Regions from separate parts of the Homo sapiens genome. Here region 1 is linked to region 2. Evidence: promoter capture Hi-C in 16 types of primary human blood cells and fetal thymus (Javierre and others, 2016). All regions are on one chromosome and are shown on one strand. Each heading gives the region's core, a stretch centred on a gene start or on the middle of the fragment in contact. The rest is flanking DNA. Distances are from core to core; before and after follow the strand shown.

Region 1 (5,999 bases), core at 1,238-3,737, about 10 Mb before region 2:
TGTTCATTTACTTTCTTAATAAGCTTGCTTTCACTTTATGGACTTGCCCCAAACTCTTTATTATGTGAGGTCCAAGAACCCTCTCTTGGGGTCTGGATCGAGGCCCCTTTGCAGTATAACAAGGATCAGGAGTAGACAAAGAAAAGTCCAGGTCCCTGGCTCAACAGAATCTACTCTCCAGCAAACAAGATAAAACTTGCTATCTCCCTTTAATTGAAGTCCCTAATGTTTAATGGAAGTCCCAGTAGGCATCCATATGGTCTCTGTATTTACCAGCGGCTGGAAGCTCGCTTTGTACGTTACTCTGCACAACACCACATGACTGCTCCTGACAGTAATTTGAGGAGCTTCTGGTGATGGTAAACTTGCACAGTATGTTCAAAACCAACCTACAATCTGTGTTACGCCTGTATGTTTCACAAGGAACATGTCTGTATATTTCGACTCCAGAAATATAATTTGTCAAACCAATTATCGTACCTAAAATGTCTTGTGCTGTGTTTTATAATAATTTACGCAAATGAGTTTCATTTCATGTAATTAACCTATTCCAGTGTGATGTTTCTCACCCCAACTTTGCCAGCTCTCTTTCCAGCACAGAAACAGATTCCGCTAACCATCGCCAAAGGCAGGACCTGTGAACAGCTGAAGCATCTCCTGGTCTCTGCTCTGCTGAGCCTTCCATAGCAAATCCCAGGCAGACAGGGTCCTGAGGATTGATGGCACCTGAGCAGCAGTTGTGACCTTCCGCAACATTCTCTTATGCCTCTATAAAAGCCAGTAATCTCCCGGCATGATGGCTCATGCCTATAACGTCAGAGTTTTGGAAAGCGGAGGTGGGAGGATCACTTCAGGTCAGGAGTTTGAGACCAGCCTGGGCATCAAAGTGAGCCTCTATCCCTACAAAACATTTTTTTAATTAGCCAGATGTGGTAGTGCGTGTCTGTAGTCCCAGTTACTAGGGAGGCTGAGGCAAGAGGATCGCTTAAGCCTAGGAGGTCGAAGCTGCAGCGACCTGTGATTGCACCACTGCACTGCAGCCTAGGTGATGGAGCAAGACCCTGTCTCAAAAGAAAAAAGAAGGGCCGGGCATGGTGGCTCACTCCTGTAATCCCAGCAGTTTGGGAGGCCGAGGCAGGCAGATCACGAGGTCAGGAGATTGAGACCATCCTGGCCAACACGGTGAAACCCTGTCTCTACTAAAAATAAAAAAAATCAGCTGGGCGTGGTGGCACGCGCCTGTAGTCCCAGCTACTCGGTAGGGCGAGACAGGAGAATCGCTTGAACCCGGGAAGCGGAGGTTGCAGTGAGCCGATATCGCGCCACTGCACTCCAGCCTGGGTGACAAGGCAAGACTCTGTCTCAAAAAAAAAAAAAAAAAGAAAGAAAAAAGAAGAAAGAAGAAAAAGAAACAAATGGTCAATAAACTTATGAAGAAGTGCTCAACTACAGCGATAAGCAGGAAAATGCAAATTAAACCCACAATGAGTTGCCTGCCAGACAGGCTAAGGGAGTAGAAGTACGAGCTGGTGCCATCACTGGGGAAATCAGTGACATGACCTCATAGAGCTGAAGCTAAGATTGTGCTGTGGCCCAGCAGTGATTTAGGTGCTGTACGTACACACCTTACCAGCATTCTCTATGTAACAACAGCCCCAGGTGTCCATCTGTAGTGGAATGCATGATCAGTGTGATGGAGTCACATTAGGTTGCTGCAAAAGGACTTGTGGTTTTGGCCATTAAAAGTAATGACAGGGTGGGTGCGATGGCTCACACCAGTTATCCCAACGCTTTGGGAGGCCGAGGTGGGCAGATCACTTGAGGTCAGGAGTTTGAGACCAGCCTGGCCAAAATGGCAAAACTCTCTGCTCAAAATACAAAAATTAGCTGGGCATGGTGGCACACACCTGTAATCCCATCTACTCAGGAGGCTGAGGCAGGAAAATTGCTTGAACCCAGGAGGTGGAGGTTGCAGTGAGATGAGATCATGCAACTACACTCCAGCCTGGGCAACAGAGTGAGACTCCGTCTCAAAAAAAAAGAAAAAAGAAAAAAAGAAAAAAGGCCAGGCATAGTAGCTCACGCCTGTAATCCTAGCACTTTGGGAGGCCGAGGCAGGTGGATCACCTGAAGTCAGGAGTTCGAGACCAGCCTGGCCAACATGGCAAAACCTCATCTCTACTGAAAATGCAAAAATTAATTGGGCATGGTGGCGCATGCCTGTAATCCCAGCTACTCAGGAGGCTGAGGCAGGAGAATCACTTGAACCCCAACGGTGGGGTGAGGTTGCAGTGAGCCAAGATCGCACCACACCACTGCACCCCAGCCTGGGTGACAGAGTAAGACTCCTCTAAAATAAATAAATAAGTAAAAGTAATGACAAAAACCACAATTTCTTTGGCACCAACCTAATACAGTGTAATATTATTGGTAACAAAACAATGAAGTACAACTAAATGCAACAACATGAATGAGTCTTGAACATACACCAAGGAGAGAAAAACCAAACACAAAAGAATATATGTGATCCCATTGACATGTGAATTTCAAAAACAGCCAAGAACTTTATTATAGTGTTTGAGAGTGTATGTTTGGTAGTAAAAGTATAAAGACGGCCAGGCGCGGTGGCTCACCCTTGTAATCCTAGCACTTTGGGAGGCCGAGGTGGGTGGATCAAAAGGTCAGGAGTTCGAGACCAGCCTGGCCAACATGGTGAAATCCCATCTCTACTAAAAATACAAAAAATTAGCTGGGAGTGGTGGTGTGCGCCTGTAATCCCAGCTATTTGGGAGGCTGAGGCAGAAGAATCGCTTAAACCCAGGGGGCAGAGGTTGCTGTAAGCTGAGATGGCGCCACTGCCCTCCAGCCTGGGCGACAGAGCGAGACTCCATCTCAAAAAAAAAAAATGTATAAAGACAAGGAGGTGATTAGCATAATGTTACAACAACCAGGATGTGGATGCCTTTGGGGCAGGAAAGGAACACAGAGGGTTGGCCGTGGCCGGCAAGATTCTCATGCTTGACCTTGGTGGTGTCAGGTTTTGCTTTACAATAATTCACAAGATTTATGTCTGATATGCTTTTCTCTGTGTCTTATGTTTTACAATTAAGGAAGGGTTTTACAAAGCACATATGGTCCAGCCTGGCCAACATAGTGAAACCTGTCTCTACTAAAAAATACAAAATTAGCTGGGCATGGTGGTGCGGGCCTGTAGTCCCAGCTACTTGGGAGGCTGAGGTGGGAGGATCACTTGAGCCTGGGAGGTGGAGCAAATCACCTAATTTTACATGAATGGGATAACTTATCAAGTGACAGCATCACACGATTTGTGTGTGTGTGTGTGTGTGTGTGTGATGGGGTCTCGCTCTGTCACCCAGGCTGGAGTGCAGTGGCATAATCATAGTTCACAGTAGCCTCAACCTCCTGGGCTCAAGCAATCCTCCACCCCCAGCCTCTTGAGGAGCTGCGAGTATAGGTCTGCACCACTATGCCTGGTTAATCCCAGCCTCTTGAGTAGCTGGGAGTATAGGTCTGCACCACCATGCCTGGCTAATTTTTTTGTTTTTTTTTTTTGAGATGGAGTTTTGCTCTCGTTGCCCAGCCTGGAGCGTGGTGGCCTGATCTTGGCTCACTGCAAACTCCGCCTTCCAGTTTCAAGCGATTCTCCTGCTTCAGCCTCCCGAGTAGCTGAGATTACAGGCGCACACAACCACGCCTTGATAATTTTTGTATTTTTAATAGAGACAGGGTTTCACCATGTGAGCCAGACTGGTCTCAAACTCCTGACCTTGTGATCTGCCGGCCTCGGCCTCCCAAAGTGCTGGGATTACAGGCGTGAGGCACCGCACCCAGCCACTAACTTTTTTTTTTTTTTTTTTGAGACGGAGTCTCACTCTGTCGCCAGGCTGGAGTGCAGTGGCGCGATCTCATGATTATTTGAGGGAGCCTTCCTTGGAGCTCAGCACATGTAAGGGCAGACCCAGTAGCTGTTATCAGCCCCATCTGTCAATGGAAAGAGAAAGTAACTTGCCTAAGTTCACACAGCTAGTCAGAATTCTTGGGTTGCTGAGGAAGGATGAACCATCATAGGCTGGAAATGAAATAGGTCAAAACTCCTTCAAATAATTTTATAAATGTTGGCTCAACTTCTTGAGAATGAAAATAATACATGTCTATTTATAACACTTATTAATTTGGTTTTACCTACATTTTTCTTTTTTCTTTTTTTTTTTTTTGGAGATACAGTCTCGCTGTCGCCCAGGCTGGAGTGCAATGGCGTGATCTCGTCTCATTGTGACCTCTGCCTCAAGTGATTCTCGTGCCTCAGCCTCTACGGTAGCTGGGATTACAGGTGCTCACCACCATGCCTGGCTAATTTTTGTATTTTTAGTAGAGACGGAGTTTTGCCATGTTGGCCAGGCTGGTCTCAAACTCCTGACCTCAAGTGATCCACCCGCCACAGCCTCCCAAAGTGTTGGGATTACAGGCATGAGCCACAGCACCCAGCCATTATGTACATATTTCAAATCACATTTTGTAGAGAGATTATCTTTAGTAAATGCTTTTCTTTTTTTGTTTTTAGAGACACAGTCTCACTATATTGCCCAAGCCAAAGTGCAGGTGTGATCATTGCACATGACAGCCTCAAACTCCTGGGCTCAAGCAATCTTCCTGCCTCAGCCACCTGAGTAGCCAGGTGCGGATCAGTAGTGGGACTCTGCTGGTGAATAGCCATTGCAACCTGGGCAATATAGCAAGACCTTGTAATCCCAGTACTTTGGGAGGCCTGGGCAGGTGGGTGGATCACTTGAAGTCAGGAGTTTGAGACCAGCCTGTTCAACATGGTGAAACCCCATCTTTACTAAAAATGCAAAAATTAGCCAGGCATGGTGGCAAGTGCCTGTAATCCCAGCTACTCGGGAGGCTGAGGCAGAAGAATCTCTGTAAGATAAAAGCTTATAAGATAAAAAACAAGTTGGTTACTTCCAATATACAATGGTGGTACCAGCAATGGGTAAACATTCCCATTCCAAAAGGGAGAAATTGGCCAACAGAAAGAGGTAACAGGCTCCAGGCAAGTCTGAAACCCAGCAGGGCAGACATTAAGCCTTAAAGCTAAATCTCCCTTTACTCCATGTCAAGGGAGAGCCCCCATGACTGTTCTCCCAGGTTAGAGTCTGCTGCCTGTGGCTTTTCCAGGCTGAGGATGCCAGCAGCTGGTGGATCTACCTTTCTTGGGTCTGGTCTGGAGAGTAGTGGTCCCCTTCCCACAGCTGCACTAGGCAGTGCCCCAGTGGGGCCTCTATGTGTGGGATCCAACCCCACATTTCCCCTCAGCACTCCCCTAGTAGAGTCTCTCTGCAGGGGCTCCATCTCTGCTGCAGGCTTCTGCCTGGGCACCTGGGCTTTCTGATACATCCTGTGACATCTAGGTGGAAGCTGTTAAGCCTCCTTCACTCTTGCATTGTGTGCACCTGCAGGTTTAACACCACGTGGAAGCTGCCAAGTCTTACAGATTGTGCCTTTAGGAATAGCAGTTCAGTTAGATCTGGGACCTTTGGCCTGCGGCTGGAGCTGGAGAGCCAAAATATAGGAAGCAGTGTCCTGAGGCTGCACAGGACAGTGGAGCCCTGGCCCTGGCCCTGGCCCCTGAAGCCATGCTTTCCTCCTAAGCCTCTGGGCCTGTGATGGGAGGGGCTGTCCTGAAGACTTCCAAAATGGCTTCCAGGCCTGTTTTCCATCTCTTGACTCTTAGCACTTGGCTCCCTTTTAGTTATGTAAATCTCTCTACCAAATGATTGCTCCACAAGCTCCTTGAATTCCACCTCCGAAAATGTTCTTTCCTTCTCTACCTACCACATGACCAGGCTGCAAATTTCCAAATTGTTATGCTCTGCTTCCCATTTATTTATTTACTTATTTATTTATTGAGATGGACTTTTGCTCTTGTTGCCCAGGCTGGAGTGCAGTGGCACAGTCTCAGCTTACTGCAACCTCCG
Region 2 (5,565 bases), core at 3,021-5,520:
CAGGCGCCTGTAATCCCAGCTACTCAGGAGGCTGAGGCAAGAGAATGGCTTGAACCCAGGAGGCAGAGGTTGCAGTGAGCTGAGATCGCACCACTGCACTCTAGCCAGGGTGACAGAATGAGACCTTGTCTCAAACAAAAAAAGTATAAAAAATAAAACTCATGAACTTGTGTTAATAACTTAATAATGTATATCTCTTGCTTCTCTTAAGCTGTGCTTCATGAGTTTAATTTTTTTTAATTATCACTTTTAGTAAAAGCACAAATTAGTGCTCCCTTTTTTCCAAGTATCTGTTTACCCAAGTTATAGTTCCCTCTTACTCTCCCACCTGATCACCTGCCACCCTGAAATCTGCCACTCTGCTCAGCATTACCCCTCTCCCATACTGCAATACCTGATTGTCTTCAGGCAAAGAAAATATTGTTGGAACTGCAGTTTGTTTTAAATATCGAATACCCCATCTGATGTCAAGAGAGTCAGGAGTAAAATGGTCACTACATAGAAACTGGTATTTACTGGGAACCCATGAATCTCGCTTCATATTCTTTAACCACTTTTCCAGTCTTTCTTTGTCATGTAGAGGAAATCTGGAATTTAAAAAAAAAAGAAGAAAAAAGGAAAAACTTTGCTATATTTTTACAATTTTGCCAAATTCCCACCCTATATATCTGGGTAACCTATGCATCAAGTAAGTACTACAAGAGGAAGGCAACCATCCCTACCAAATAAGAGCATCTTCATGACAACTAGTACCATTATCATCTCTGCAGTAAGAGGCCTAAGATGTAAGACATGTAGCCAAGGCTCTTATCTGATAAGAGCTGAACATAATTCAGAGTCCCTTCAAGTAAAATATATGTGTTCCTATAAAGGACAAAATCTATTTGTATTTTCTATGGATTATGTTCCATTTTTATATTGCTGTACAGTTTGCCTAGAACTAGAAAAAAGGTTTGTATAAATTATAAATTCCTATTCAAATGTATTTCATAATACCACCACATGTCAAATGGCTTGTTGTCTATAATTCAAGGCAGTATTAAGCTTTACAATCTTATTTAATATTTAAAAAATAAGATGTTATTTCAAACAAATGATTTAGCTGAAAAAGTACTGAAAATATTCTCTTTACTAGCATCATCTTTAATTCTATCTATAAGTAATCTAGTCTAATAGTACTACACTTCTATAACCAATGAACTGGGAACTCCAAATTTCAAGTTCTGAAGGAGAAACTGATAGAAGAAAAGAATGGAACATGTTAAAAGGGACAGTCTCAGATATTTTATATGAAACAAATCAAATACAAATGGCAAGACAGCGCTGTATACATTTTGTTCCTGTACCTGACAATAACCTGGATTTAAAGTTGGTGCTAACATTACAGTGTATGGCAGAATTTGATAGAAAATTTTTCCTATCAATCTAAAAAGGTTTGGGTCAAGGTATACAAAACAATATTTGAAAATGGTTTATATTCCATTTGGTACTTTTCCAAGAACAGAGTCCAAGACACCACATAATTTCCTGTTTTTAAAAATAGTAACAATATAAGGTTTCTCATATAAAATGTAGCTGTTATACACTCCCTTCCCGCAATCCCAATCATTTAGCTTATGTTTTGTAGTAGCATCATTTTTTCCCCCTAAATTCTGGTAACTTTTTAAGATGCCATGGAAAGTCTGGGTACTCTGTAAGATATAACTTTTAATCCTGATATCCTCATACGGAAAAAAATCAGATAAACTACCTTTGGAAATTCCAACCACAGAAGCAATATTAATCATGTTTTAAAAATATTTTAACTTTACAAATATTAGGTTGTAAGTATGACAAGCATAACCAGAAAAGGAATTTTAAAGGCAGACAAATTTTCTTTTAGAGGACCTGACTTCTTCTGGCCATTGGTAAATTCATTTCTTTTGTTACAACTGAAATGAGAATAGGCCTTTTACAATAATGCTTTTTACTGTAAATTCATGTATATGGATGCTGTTTGCAAATTATTTCCATTGTACCTATATGCTAAGTTATCAACTCATTAAAAAAAACTTTGTGAATATCCTTATTGTTTACTGGATTGTATTGCTTCAATAGGTAAATCTCTAAGAAATCTTGATCATGTTTCCTGAATAAATTATGTCTTTATATTGGTTCAATTCATTTGATAATTTTGTTTCATTGTCTTATGTAATTCCCCAAAAGGCATAAGATAATCACAGTACAAACTGGACACTATATTAACTGAATTCCCAAATTCATATACATTTAAACTACAGTTTGCTGTAGTGTTAACATGAGCAAATTCAATTCAAGTTTGACGCTACTGGAGAATAAAACTAATTCAATTTTTATTTTGTGGATTACACAAGAAAATTTTTTAAAAACCCTAGAAATAATACAACTTTTACTAAATTCACATTTTCAGTGAAAAAAATCTTTACAATTCACTTGCATTATTTTTTCCTTCCTAAAAAGTTACTGTAAGGTCCACAAAGTTTAGTTAAAAATTTCAGTGTGGGGTTATACCCCATCTCCAATATCAAAGGCCAAATAAATCTGGGAAATACGGGGTTAAATCAAGTTCAACATGATCTTTTGCTACAAACATTCTCAGAGATAGAGCCATTAGTACAGTAGTATTTCCCTATAAACTGAAAGTGGATTAGATTGTTTTCCTCCCCCAAACATCTCTTTGCATCTTGAGGCTGGGCTTCAAGGGAGACAATCCTGGAAATATTGCCATGGATTGTGAATTACTTGGGGTTATCAGTTTTTTTTTCTTTTGAGACGGAGTTTCGCTCTTGTTGCTCAGGCTGTGGTGCAATGGTGTGATCTCGGCTCACCTCAACCTCCACCTCCCAGGTTCAAGCGATTCACCTGCCTCAGCCTCCCGAGCAGCTGAGATCACAGGCATGCGCCGCCACGCGCAGCTAATTTTGTATTTTTAGTACAGACGGGGTTTCTCCATGTTGGTCAGGCTGGTCTCAGACTGCCGACCTCAGGTGATCTGCCCGCCTCAGCCTCCCAAAGTGCTGGGATTACAGGCGTGAGCCACCGCGCCTGGTGGGGTTATCAATTTTTTTTCCATTAATTAAAATACTGGAAAGCAGCCGAATCATTAATGAATAAGTCCTTCAGGTCTAAAGTAAAATGAGCACAAAACAACTGCTGAAAATCTGAACCAGGTTAGATCTAAATGAATTGTTTTTAAATACAAGAAAAAATGGAAATGCAGTATTTTAAATATGTTGCTTTTCATGTGTTATTAATCATGTGAGTACTATTAACATCTCCATGTTACAGATGAGATATGTGAGACACCAAAGCTTAAATACTTTCCAAGAGGTCATTAAGCTACAGAATAGTGGAACCAGGATCTAGCATTGAAGCCTGGACCCCTAATTATTATACGACACTGCTTGTCTGTACTTCTGAATAAAAATCAGTGCTTCAGTAGTTTGATGGAAATATATCGTGGCTCTAGTAATTCAGAGTAACAGAATAAAACCTTGTTCTCCGCAGAGTATCTACAGCCCTAAGCAGAAGACTAGTTTATAATTCTGGCTCTGACACTAAACTTTCAAGGTCGGTTACCTAATCATTCCGGGCCTCAGTTTCCTCAGGAGAAAAGTGGGATGAAATTATACCTATGCGACCTACCTCGCGGGGGGTGTAAATTAACTTTGCGTGCACCTTTCCACTTCGCAGGTTTCACGTATCTTAAATGGTGGTTAATGTTGTTCAATGAAATGAGATCACGTGAAGTGGGGAAAAGACTGAAAACCACAGAAGCCCGCGCAAACTTTACTGTTTTAACTGTTAACACCCAAACAGGCTCCTGGGCCTCGCCACCAGCCAGCAGTCCTCGCGCAAGAAGGGCATTGCTAGCTAAACTGAACTAGCGCCTTCCCTCCGTCTTGCCGCGGGCGACGGGCCACGTACGGAGAGCTGAGGACTCACTGGCAGAGCGGACAGGAGACACCCAAGCCCAAAGGCCACAGGTCCAAGGCCTCACGGCGAGGCTGACGCTTCTGCTCCAGAAACAACTTACGGATAAAAACTCAGCTTCCGGTCTTTATTGTTTCGTCCCCGGCGGTTCTTACAACAAATCGCTGCGCAATAGCGGGGCATGACTCGGGTGAGGCCCCTGGAGACCGGGGCCGGCGACGGATGCAGGGCGGCCCTCCTCACTGAGGATGCGCCACAGGTCCAGGCCTCTCGAGCCCCTGCGCCTGCGCTAGCATTCTGCCGGGAAAGCCGCCTCGTCTGTCGACTCACTTCCGCCTCCTCCGGTTTAAGCACCGCCTTTTCGGGGGTTGAAGCCGGAAGTGGCGCACAGCCCTAGCAGCAACAACAGTTTTCCACGTGCGCGTAGGGCGCCGGGATCACGTGGGGAGGCAGAAGCCAATGGGGAAGCGTTTCGTGTAGGTCTTCTGAGGTGGTGGCGCCAGCGGCTACCTCCTGCCTGTGAGGAGCTGGCTGAGAGGGGACTGGGCGCCGGCGGGGAAGGAGGAGCGCTAGGTCGGTGTACGACCGAGATTAGGGTGCGTGCCAGCTCCGGGAGGCCGCGGTGAGGGGCCGGGCCCAAGCTGCCGACCCGAGCCGATCGTCAGGGTCGCCAGCGCCTCAGCTCTGTGGAGGAGCAGCAGTAGTCGGAGGGTGCAGGTGAGGGACGAGGCCGGGGTCGTGGGGAGGGGAGTTCGGAGGGTCCCCGTAGCCCAGGCCTGTCTTTGTGAGCTGACTTGGCCTCGGTGTCCGCCACGGTCGCCGCAGGGACAATGGGCTGCATGTTTTTGGCCGAGAGAATGGAAGAACGGAGACAGCCGCATCACAGAATCGTGTTTTGGGTTGTGGCGCCGGCTTTCACGGGCGCCGGATTAGAGCCCGGGTCTCGGGCAGCTTCTGCGGCGGGGCCTGGGCGGGCAGGGAAAGTGCCAGTCGCCTTTAGGTGAAGGTTGGAGGGTCTAGCCCAGCCGCCCACCGAGGCTGGGGAATAAGGCACGGGCTGCTGGCTGGCGGGGCCGTCTTGGGGATGAGAAGTCTGTACAATACAAAACTAGTCTGCTAAAAAAAAATCATTAGATGTCCACCTTGAGACCGTGGAATAACGTCTGCTGAACCAGTGAGGCGCCTCCCTGTCAGTTTTAGATCCGCCCTTTGACTAGGGAGCAACCTGCAGTTGACGCAGCGTCCATGGGACACACTGTTGTGTTCCTTAAACCGAGAAGTGGTTCTTGATTCTTGGTACCCGTGACTACGAGTAACTCTCTGGAAATAAGTAATCTACCTGCCTGCTAATTACTCTCAGGAAAGGCCGCTGGAGAGGAAGCCAGGCAATTTCCACAAACCGTAGTGTTTTTCGTCAGCCTTATTATGGCATTATAGGTTACTAAGGACTCTGGTGGTCCCGTATTCAAAAAACAGGATCCATCCCTTCGTTTTGAATCTCAAGTCATTGAATACATATTGTCAAGAATTCTAAGTTAACATTTCTTTAATGGTTTAAAGGTAAAAGAAATATTTTAACTACTGAGTTTGTGAAAGTAAGAATCTGCCTTAACC

Evidence for each region. The method cuts DNA at HindIII sites, captures the fragments that hold promoters and counts their contacts. A CHiCAGO score of 5 or more calls a contact.
Region 1: a contact is called between a fragment that was not itself captured here and the fragment with the promoter of THAP5 in region 2, in 1 of 17 cell types (neutrophils). The highest score is 6.5, in neutrophils.

What each region holds. Positions count from the first base shown.
Region 1 is chr7:98,256,286-98,262,284 of GRCh38, forward strand. It overlaps LOC124901706 (a long non-coding RNA gene), which reads left to right. Exons shown (of 2, transcript XR_007060448.1): 2 at 1-471. Among named protein-coding and RNA genes, the nearest start is that of TECPR1, 7.1 kb to the left of the region's middle. The HindIII fragment of the contact is 4,932 bases long and covers 22-4,953 here.
Region 2 is chr7:108,565,436-108,571,000 of GRCh38, forward strand. It overlaps THAP5 (THAP domain containing 5), which reads right to left and starts at 4,271. Exons shown (of 3, transcript NM_001130475.3): 1 at 4,055-4,271; 2 at 395-587. The coding sequence starts at 4,134. DNAJB9 (DnaJ heat shock protein family (Hsp40) member B9) reads left to right here and starts at 4,439. Exons shown (of 3, transcript NM_012328.3): 1 at 4,439-4,668. RefSeq lists enhancers at 3,854-4,333, 3,867-4,594. The HindIII fragment of the contact is 6,219 bases long and covers 3,328-5,565 here.